Regions from separate parts of the Homo sapiens genome. Here all the other regions are linked to region 1. The links are contacts of gene promoters, found by promoter capture Hi-C in human tissues and cell types (Jung and others, 2019). All regions are on one chromosome and are shown on one strand. The core of a region is centred on a gene start or on the middle of the fragment in contact, and the rest is flanking DNA. Distances in the headings are between cores, read along the strand shown.

The links. Contacts are between HindIII fragments. The study calls those that stand out against the background at their distance.
Region 2: a contact is called between a fragment that was not itself captured here and the fragment with the promoter of NOL8 in region 1, in 1 of the 25 tissues and cell types used here (H1 embryonic stem cells).
Region 3: a fragment that was not itself captured here is called in contact with the fragment with the promoter of NOL8 in region 1 in 1 of the 25 tissues and cell types used here (IMR-90 fibroblasts).

Annotation. Positions count from the first base shown.
Region 1 is chr9:92,323,737-92,326,768 of GRCh38, reverse strand. NOL8 (nucleolar protein 8) reads left to right here and starts at 1,419. Exons shown (of 17, transcript NM_017948.6): 1 at 1,419-1,463; 2 at 2,560-2,746. The coding sequence starts at 2,608. It overlaps CENPP (centromere protein P), which reads right to left and starts at 816. Exons shown (of 8, transcript NM_001012267.3): 1 at 664-816. The coding sequence starts at 770. RefSeq lists enhancers at 1,211-1,320, 1,351-1,470, 1,249-2,137. The HindIII fragment of the contact is 17,330 bases long and covers 1-3,032 here.
Region 2 is chr9:92,543,196-92,546,227 of GRCh38, reverse strand. All of the region lies in intron 5 of CENPP (centromere protein P), which reads right to left. It also overlaps a transcript of ECM2 not described here. Among named protein-coding and RNA genes, the nearest start is that of ECM2, 8.7 kb to the right of the region's middle. The HindIII fragment of the contact is 5,415 bases long and covers 1-3,032 here.
Region 3 is chr9:92,521,989-92,525,020 of GRCh38, reverse strand. The region is part of intron 5 of CENPP (centromere protein P); the gene reads right to left. ECM2 (extracellular matrix protein 2) reads left to right here. Exons shown (of 10, transcript NM_001393.4): 2 at 2,128-2,446. The coding sequence starts at 2,155. Among named protein-coding and RNA genes, the nearest start is that of MIR4670, 4.6 kb to the left of the region's middle. The HindIII fragment of the contact is 7,872 bases long and covers 1-3,032 here.

The sequences.
Region 1 (3,032 bases), core at 170-2,669:
TTTCTCTCCCTCTCCTTCAATAAACCAAAAGTGCCCAGACTTTGGAGTAAAATTTTTGGGTCCCAATCCATCTCTGACAATTCCTTTCTCTGGAACCTTGGACAAGCTACCTAACTTCTCTGAGCCTCAGTTTCTTCAACTATAAAACAGGGCTAACAGTAGCACCTACCTCAGAGGAATGTCAAATTCTCCTGCAGTCTATATTAACTACTTTTCTTTTATCAACTTAGTTTTTTACCGAAGTTATTTTTCAAAGGAATTTTTATGTCATCGTAAACACAAAGTCATTATCAGTTGAGATGGTTAGCTGACCTACCAAAACAAATGCCATGAAACCAAACGGAGTTATTAAATCCCAACTAGAGATACTTCTGCATACTGGAGGCGGAATTATCTAGCTAGGGATATAGTCAAGACTTCCTCCTTGTCAGTCATCCACACAGACGACTGCGATTAAACGAGTTAATACCCTGCAATGCGTTTACAGCTGGGCGCCGTACGCGCTGCTCCCAACTCTAGGCCATCGTCATGACAGGATCAATGCCAGTTCATGCCCACTTTCTAGGGCTGGGAGTAGGAGACCGAGGATGTCTGTGGAGATTCACCCGCCTGGCCCGGGAACCCTGGCCAGCGGGCCCTGGGGGACTTGGGGTGGTCACGTACTGGACTCGGGACTTCTCTTCCCAGGGCGCCGGTGGGTCCTCACACGCTCGCCGCAGGGCCGCGATCTCAGCTTGCAAGGCGCGCACCTCTGCCAGCTCTGCGTCCATGGCGCGTTGCTGACCGCAGCCGGGCCGGCAGCGCAGCTGTCACTCCGACCTGCGCGCTTCACCCGCGCTTCAAGCCTCGCGCGCGCTCCCGGCGCGGACCATCCCAGAGCTCACGCGGAGGGGAGGCGGGAGAGCTCCGCGTGACCCCAGCGGCCCTGCACGTCCAACTCCGCTCTCGCACGAGAGCCTGAGTCCTCCACTTCCCCGCACACGTTTCCCTGGCTGTCTAAGCAGTGGCTATACTTTCTCTGGAGAGCGCGTTCTTTGCTACTCCAAGCCCAAGCGCTCCGCTGCTCACCCTAGCCGGCAGCCTTGGAGCCGCCCGGCCGCGTGCCTCACTAAAGAGGCAGGGCTGGGATCACGTGGAGGGGAGCGCCTCTTTATTTTTTTCACCTACTTCCTCTCTTACGCCGACCTAGTCCAGGAATTGGTACACACAGCGATAGTGTTCAATAGAAACTAGGGGATTTTGGTTTAGGCTCTTTTGCAGTCGTTGAGGGGGAGGTGACGGAGGCGTCAGGGAAGGTGGGAGGACGGAAAAGGAAATTAAAAGCTCTTGGGAACTGAATTGTGGTAACGGAACCTTAGGAGGCTGGGTTGGAAATCGAGTAGGAAGGAAGAGAGGATGCTCCGTTGGGACACGTGACCAGAAGTTAGGGGCTGCAGCGGCGCTGGCTTTAGGTGAACGACGTGGTGAGGAGTGGGTTTCGGGCATGAGAAGTCACAGGGCCGTTTCCTAGTCTCTCTTCACTTCTTTGGGTCTTCTCAGAGAAAGAAGGCTGCCGTGGGTAGGCTGGGGGCGGAGACTATCGGGAAGAGGTAGGCCGAAGTTCTGCCCAGAATACACGCCATGTGGTGGACGCTGGTTGGGAGTCTCTTCTGGAAAGAGTCTGTCAGCTCTTGGGGAAGGGAAGGGCGAGAGCTGAGCGCCTGCCGGGTGCTAAACGAAATGAGAGATACTATGATGGGCCCTAGTACCTCTGGAAAAGTTTTCCTGAGTCCCCTGTGATACAGCAACCTTCATAGTATAGTGTTAAGAATTCCAAGTTCTGAAGGTAGACCTGCATTATAATCCTGGATTCACTAATTTTCGGTATGGCATTGAGGAAGTGACTTAACCTCTTCTGCTCTCCTGAAAAATGGGAAACATGCAAACTACTTTGTACAATGCAGGCACATAGCAAAAACACAAGTCTGTATTCGCTATATCCCTTGATCTTTGTGTCTGAACCCCACTTTGCAGCACTTTTATTGTGACATAATATTGTGCCATTTGTTTTATTCTTTTGTGACTATAAGGAGCTCCTAGCCTCTCTATTCACTTCTTTGGGTCTTCTAGGAGGAAGAAGGCTGGGGTGGGTAGGTTGGGGGTGGAGACAATTAGGAAGAGGTAGGCTAGCTCTTTTTATCTTTTAGTGCGTTACATCCTGTTTCTGTCAGACTTTGTTAAAGACAGTAAATGAATGTATGAGTGAGTCAAGGAAAAACATCTAAAAACATGAATACATAAAATTAAGAGGGATAGAGTGTAATATTATGGCCATTTGGAGGAAAAAAACTCTGTCTGTACCTGTGTCTATATGGGTATGGGGTTGCTGTTCCAAAGTGCATTCATGAAAGATGTGGATGTAGGGCTTGGGCAAAACCTCGAAGACTAAAATTTGGAAGTAATACAATAGGAAGTGAAATACAGATCCAGGAGACGGATTTGATACAGAAGGTTCAGAGGAAGTAGTTGTTTTGTTAGATTTTAGAAGAACTAAGGGAAAGAACTCTTCTCTGTATACAGAAAATTACTTTTCCCACTGAAACACACCCAAGTATATGCCCAGCCTTCATGAAAGTGAACAGAGAAACGAAGCGCCTTTATGTGGGTGGCCTTAGCCAGGACATTTCTGAGGCAGACCTACAAAATCAGTTCAGCAGATTTGGAGAAGTTTCGGATGTGGAGATCATCACACGGAAAGATGACCAAGGTAATTTATGGTCCTTCACTGGGCAGTTATAGGCAGACATAACTCAGGTTAAGTGCTAGAAAATAAAACAACCCCAAGATAAATGTTAGCTCTGAACACCAAAAGTTTTAAGTGATGTTGTGGAGGTATAATGTGTGATGTGGAACTTGACCAGAATTTGTTTCTGAAATAAGAAAAAATTCCAAATTCTAAAACATCTGATTTCAGAAACATATTAACTTCCAGTTTTGAGAACTAGAATTTTCTAACATGGATTAAGTGTCCCGTTAAGTAGACTATCACTAGC
Region 2 (3,032 bases), core at 143-2,642, 220 kb before region 1:
CTGTTTTACAGAGAGCTGATTGGTCCGTTTTGACAGGGTACTGACTGGTGCGTTTACAATCGCTGAGCTAGACACAGAAGTTCTCCAAGTCCCCACTAGATTAGCTAGACACAGAGCACTGATTGGTGCATTCACAAACCCTGAGCTAGACACAGGGTGCTGATTGGTGCATTTGCAAACCCTGAGCTAGACACAGAGTGCTGATTGGTGCATTCACAATCCCTGAGCTAGACACAAGGTGCTGACTGGTGCATTTACAAACCCTGAGCTAGACAGAGTGCTGATTGGTGCATTCACAATCCCTTAGCTAGACATAAAGGTTCTCCAAGTCCCCACCAGATCAGCTAGACACAGAACACTGATTGGTGCATTTACCAAACCTTGAGCTAGACACAGTGTGCTGATTGGTGCATTTACAAACCTTGAGCTAGACACGGAGTGCTGACTGGTATATCTACAATCCCTTAGCTAGACATAAAGGTTCTCCAAATCCCCACTAGACTCAAGAGCCCAGCTGGATGAGCCCAGCTGGATTCACCCAGTGGATCCCGCACCAGGCTGCAGGTGGAGCTGGCTGCCAGTCCCGCGCCCTGTGCCCGCACTCCTCAGCCCTTGGGCGGTCAGTGGGACTGGACGCGGTGGAGCAGGGGGCAGAGCTCGTCGGGGAGGCTCGGGCCTTGAAGGGGCCCGGCGGGGCGGGAGGCTCAGTCTTGGCGGGCTGCAGGTCCGGAGCCCTGCCCCGCGGGGAGGCAGCTAAGGCCCGACGAGAAATCAAGCACAGCGCCGGTGGGCCGGCACTGCTGGGGTACCCGACGCACCCTCCGCAGCTGCTGGCCGGGGTGCTAAGTCCCTCACTGCCCGCTCCCAGTACGGGGCCCGCCAAGCCCACGCCCACCCAGAACTCTAGCTGGCCTGCAAGTGCCACACGCAGCCCTGGTTCCCGCCCGTACCTCTCTCTCCACACCTCCCCTAAACCTGAGCGGCTCCGGCCTCGGCCATCCCAGGTCCGAGCCGGCTCCGGCCTCGGCCATCCCAGGAAGGAGCTCCCACAGCACAGCGTGGGCTGAAGGACTCCTCAAGCACGGCCAGAGTGGGCGCTGAGGCTGAGGAGGTGCCAAGAGCGAGCGAGGGCTGCGAGGGCTGCCAGCAGGCTGTCACCTCTTAAGATTTTCTTACTGTCTTTTAAATGCTTTAAGAATTTGTAAGATGGGCGTGGTTGCTCACACCGGTAATCCCAGCACTCTGGAGCGGGCTGAGGCGGGTGGATCACCTGAGGTCAGGAGTTTTGAGACCAGCCTGACCAACATGGTGAAACCACGTCTCCACTAAAAATACAAAAAAAAATTTAGCTGGGTGTGGTGGCATGCGCCTGTACTCCCAGCTACTGGGGAGGCTGAGGCAGGAGAATTGCTTGAACCCGAGAGGCGGAGGTTGCAGTGAGCTGAGATCGCGCCACTGCACATCAGCCTGAGCAACAACAGCGAAACTCCAACTCAAAAAAAAAAAAAAAAAAAATTTATAGTGATAACAATTTCTCTGGTCCTCACATTGGTGAGCCACGCTTTCTCCCTTTTTTCATGCATCAGTCTTGCCACAGCTTTTACTAGTTTTGTTTTTTAAAGAACAACTTTGGAATGTAGAATATTTGACAAAATTCAACACCCTCTCATGATAAAAAAAAAAACCCCTCAACAAATTAACTATAGAAAGAATGTACCTCAACATAAATAAAGACCATTTATTTATTTTTTTGAGACGGAGTCTTGCTCTGTTGCCCAGGCTGGAGTGCAGTGGTGCAATCGTGGCTCGCTGCAACCTCTGCCTCCAAGATTCAAGCGATTCTCGTGCCTCAGCCTCCCAAACAGCTGGGTTTACAGGCATGTGCCAGCACACCCGGCTAATTTTTGTATTTTTAGTAGAGACGGGATTTTGTCAAGTTAGCCAGGCTGGCCTTGAACTCTTGACCTCAAGTGATCCACGTGCCTCAGCCTCCCAAAGTGCTGGGATTATAGGCGTGAGCCACCACGCCCAGCCCAATAAAGATCATTTATGACAAGTGCACAGTTAATATGTCATGCTTAACGATGAAAAGCTGAAAGCATTTCTTCTAAGATCAGGAATAAGACAACAGTGCTGACTCACGCAACTTCTATTCAACATAAAACTGGTAGTCCTAGCCAGAGCAATTAGATAAGAGAAAGAAATAAAAAATATCTAAAATGGAAAGGATAAAGGTACATTTTCTCTGTTTGCAGATGACATCTTATATAGAGAAAATTCTAAAGACTGCACCAAAAAACTGCTAGAATTGATAAATGAATTCAATAAAGTTTGCAAGATACAAAATCAACATACAAAAATCAGTAGCTTTTCTGTATACTAACTAAACTACATGAAAAAGAAATCAAGAAAATTTACAATAGATACGTAATAACAAAATACTTAAGAATAAACATAACCAAGGAGGAGAAAGATCTCTACACTGAAACCTATAAATCGCTGATGAAAGAAACTTAAGACATAAGTAAATGAAAAGATATCTCTTGTTCATGGATTAGAAGCATTAATATTGTTAGAATGACTATACTACCCAAAGTGTTCTACAGATTTTATGTAATTCCTATCGAAATTTCAACTTTTTTTTTCAATGTCATTCTTAACAGAAACAGAAAAACGATCATAAAATTCGTAAGGAATCACAAAAGACCCTGAATAGCTAATGCAATCTTTTTTTTTTTTTTTTTTTTTTTTTTTTTGAGACAGGGTTTCACTCTGTCACCCAGGCTGGAGAGCAGTGGTGAGATTTCTGCTCACTGCAACCTCCACCTCCCAGGTTCAAGTGATCTTCTGCCTCAGCCTCCTGAGTAGCTGAGACTACAGGTACGTACCACCATGCCCAGCCAATTTTTGTATTTTTTGATAGAGATGGGGTTTCACCATGTTGGCCAGGCTGGTCTTGAACTCCTGACCTCAAGTTATCCACCTGCCTTGGCCTCCCAAAGTGCTTGGATTACAGGTGTGAGCCACGAGGC
Region 3 (3,032 bases), core at 202-2,701, 200 kb before region 1:
TTTTCTGAGGTTCCAACAAGATGACTGGGTTAGCAGTCTATGGCCACTTATCCCTTAATCCTTCAATGCCTCTCCTTTGCAGTTTAGGGTATTCATCTCTGTATGTAACATCACCTTGAATGTTTTACCATTCCTTCCTATCATAGATTTGTTCTGGTTGGCAAAGGAGACCAAGGTATGCCTGTGAGAATTGAAATAAATTTCATCACTGAGCAAGTTAGTTACTTTAACCTTCTAGAATCACCAAATACCTTAAATTCCCATTAAAAAGATAACAGCGGCAAATCTGTTGTGATCTGGGTTCTTATGATCCCTGGGGTTTTAGTTTCTCCTCCATACTGGCTGTGTAAGGAAGGCTTTTCATCTCAGGAAACACTGACAGTGAGTGGACCTGAGGCAAGAGCAGGAGGAAAGCTGCAAGGGGTATAGGTGTGTGTATGTGAGTATGTGTGTGTTTCTCAGCTGTAGAATTCTGAGAGGCAGTCAAAACTGCCAACCTTCCTTTGTAGGACTAACTTTAGGCCAAGAGAGATTGGCTGAGTGAATCCTTTGATGACAGCTGCTGCAACACCTTGATGGAGGTTTCTCTTGTCCCTGGCCACCAGACTTCACAGGGATTGCGCCAGTCTGTCTGACCATAATGCTACTACTGTACCAAGAGTGCCTAAATATTCATTTCTTAAATGTTTTTCAGCTTTACCATGTGCAAGGCCCTATACTAACCCTGAGACCAGCTAATTAAAGAGTTACTCTTCCTGACTCTTACCTCCTTATAACTGATGCTATTGACTGTTATTTTTATATGGCACCATCACGCCCTTCCCCCCAGACAATTATAAAGCTAGAGAATAAAAGCACAAAACAGAAAACGGCTGGGAAAATGGGTTGTGGATTACATCAGTCACAGAACGTCTTAGCAAACAGGTGGAGAGAAATCTCCCAAGTAATCTTTGAAAACCTGCAGAACAGTAGGGCCCAGAGAGGGGGCCATGTCTGATCCACCACCTTTACTGGTAATGAGTTTCCCTGGAACACATCCATGCTCATTTGTTTACAAATTGTTGTTGGGGAAAAGGCTTATGGAGTGCCTGCATAAACTGGCCATAAAAATATGGGACAATAAGTTGTGGAAAGCCACAAGAGGTCTCTGAGGAGGAAAGCCTTCTTATCGCCGTTATGTTCCCATGCTCTGAGTGCAACCTGCTCTCTTATCTATAAACACTGTGCTCAAGGAGAAAGACACTCCTCTGAAACACTGAAATGTGGACAGACGTACAGGCTCCTAGTTAAGCCCGCTCCTACTAGCTACTCTCCAATAAGTTAAAGATATGCTGTTTAAGCACAAAGGAGATTCATTTAAACCGCTACTGCTATAGATTACGCCTATGACATGCTGCCTCCCTTTCACTGTTTCGCCCTAAACATCTGCTTCTTAGATCTAAGTGATTGTACTCAATAAATCGTGTGGAGACCAGAACTCTGGGCCTTTTGCAGCCTCCATTGTGCAACTGGCCCCCTGGCTCCCATCTTTATGAACTCTTAACCTGTCTCTTCTCTTCCTTTGTTGCCACAGGGCTTTGGGTACCCTATGGGTGGTGTTGAGGCTGGTCCCCAACATATTGTCTATGGCTGCTTTCATGCTACAATGACAGAGCTGAATAGGTATGACAGAGAAGGTGTAGCCTATGACGCCTCAAATATTTACTATCTGGCCCTTTATAGAAAAAGGTTTCTAATTCCTGGTCTAAAGATAAAGGTAAGATACAAAAAAGTTCTGAACAGGCATGGTGACTCATGCTGTAATCCCAGCACTTTGGGAGGCCAATGCAGGAGGACTGCTTGAGCCCAGGAGTTCAAGGCTGCAGTGAGTCATGACTGAACCACTGCACTCCAGCCTGGGCGATGGAGCAAGACCCCATCTCTATTTAAAAAAAAAAAAAAGTTTTTTGATTCTGATAGAAGAATTCCAAATTATGATTTGGCAATAATACTATAGCATATAGTCCATATATCATAAGTGTAATTTCTCAAAGACTTGCCTACTGAGGCATACAAGCAAATATATAAGCCAATTTTCAGAAGTAAAAATTTAGTCACCACTAACTTTGAAATATTGTTTCATTCTAGAAATTGGCTGGTGGAAAAAAATCAAACATGAAGATTGCAGTTTTGTTTTGTTTTTTTCTGCTTATCATTTTTCAAACTGACTTTGGAAAAAATGAAGAAATTCCTAGGAAGCAAAGGAGGAAGATCTACCACAGAAGGTTGAGGAAAAGTTCAACCTCACACAAGCACAGATCAAACAGACAGCTTGGAATTCAGCAAACAACAGTTTTTACACCAGTAGCAAGACTTCCTATTGTTAACTTTGATTATAGCATGGAGGAAAAGTTTGAATCCTTTTCAAGTTTTCCTGGAGTAGAATCAAGTTATAATGTGTTACCAGGTAAGAGAACACTATGAGAGAGAGACAGAAAGAGGGAGGAGGGTGAGAGATGGTATGGGGAAAGAGAAGGAGAGAGGGAGAGAGGGAGAACATCTCCATGAAGATAATTTTCTAAAGAAAAATCCAGGTTATTATATTACTTTTTGGTTTAATCTACAAACATACATTTTAAAATAATTTAAAAAATAGGGCCAGGCGCGGTGGCTCACACCTGTAATCCCAGCACTTTGGGAGGCAGAGGTGGGCAGATCACGAGGTCAGGAGTTTAAGACCAGCCTGGCCAACATGTTGAAACCCCGTCTCTACTAAAAATACAAAAAATTAGCCGGGTGTGGTGGCATGTACCTGTAATCCCAGCTACTCGGGAGGCTGAGGCAGGAGAATCACTTGAACCTGGGAGGTGGAGGTTGCAGTGAGCAGAGATCACACCACTGCACTCCAGCCTGGGCGACAGAGCAAGACTCCGTCTCGAGATTAAAAACAAAACAAAACAAAACAAAACAAAACAACCCCCAAAAAACCAAAAACAACTTAAGGAACACATTTATAATTATTAGACAAAAATTACTTATCCTACCACTATATT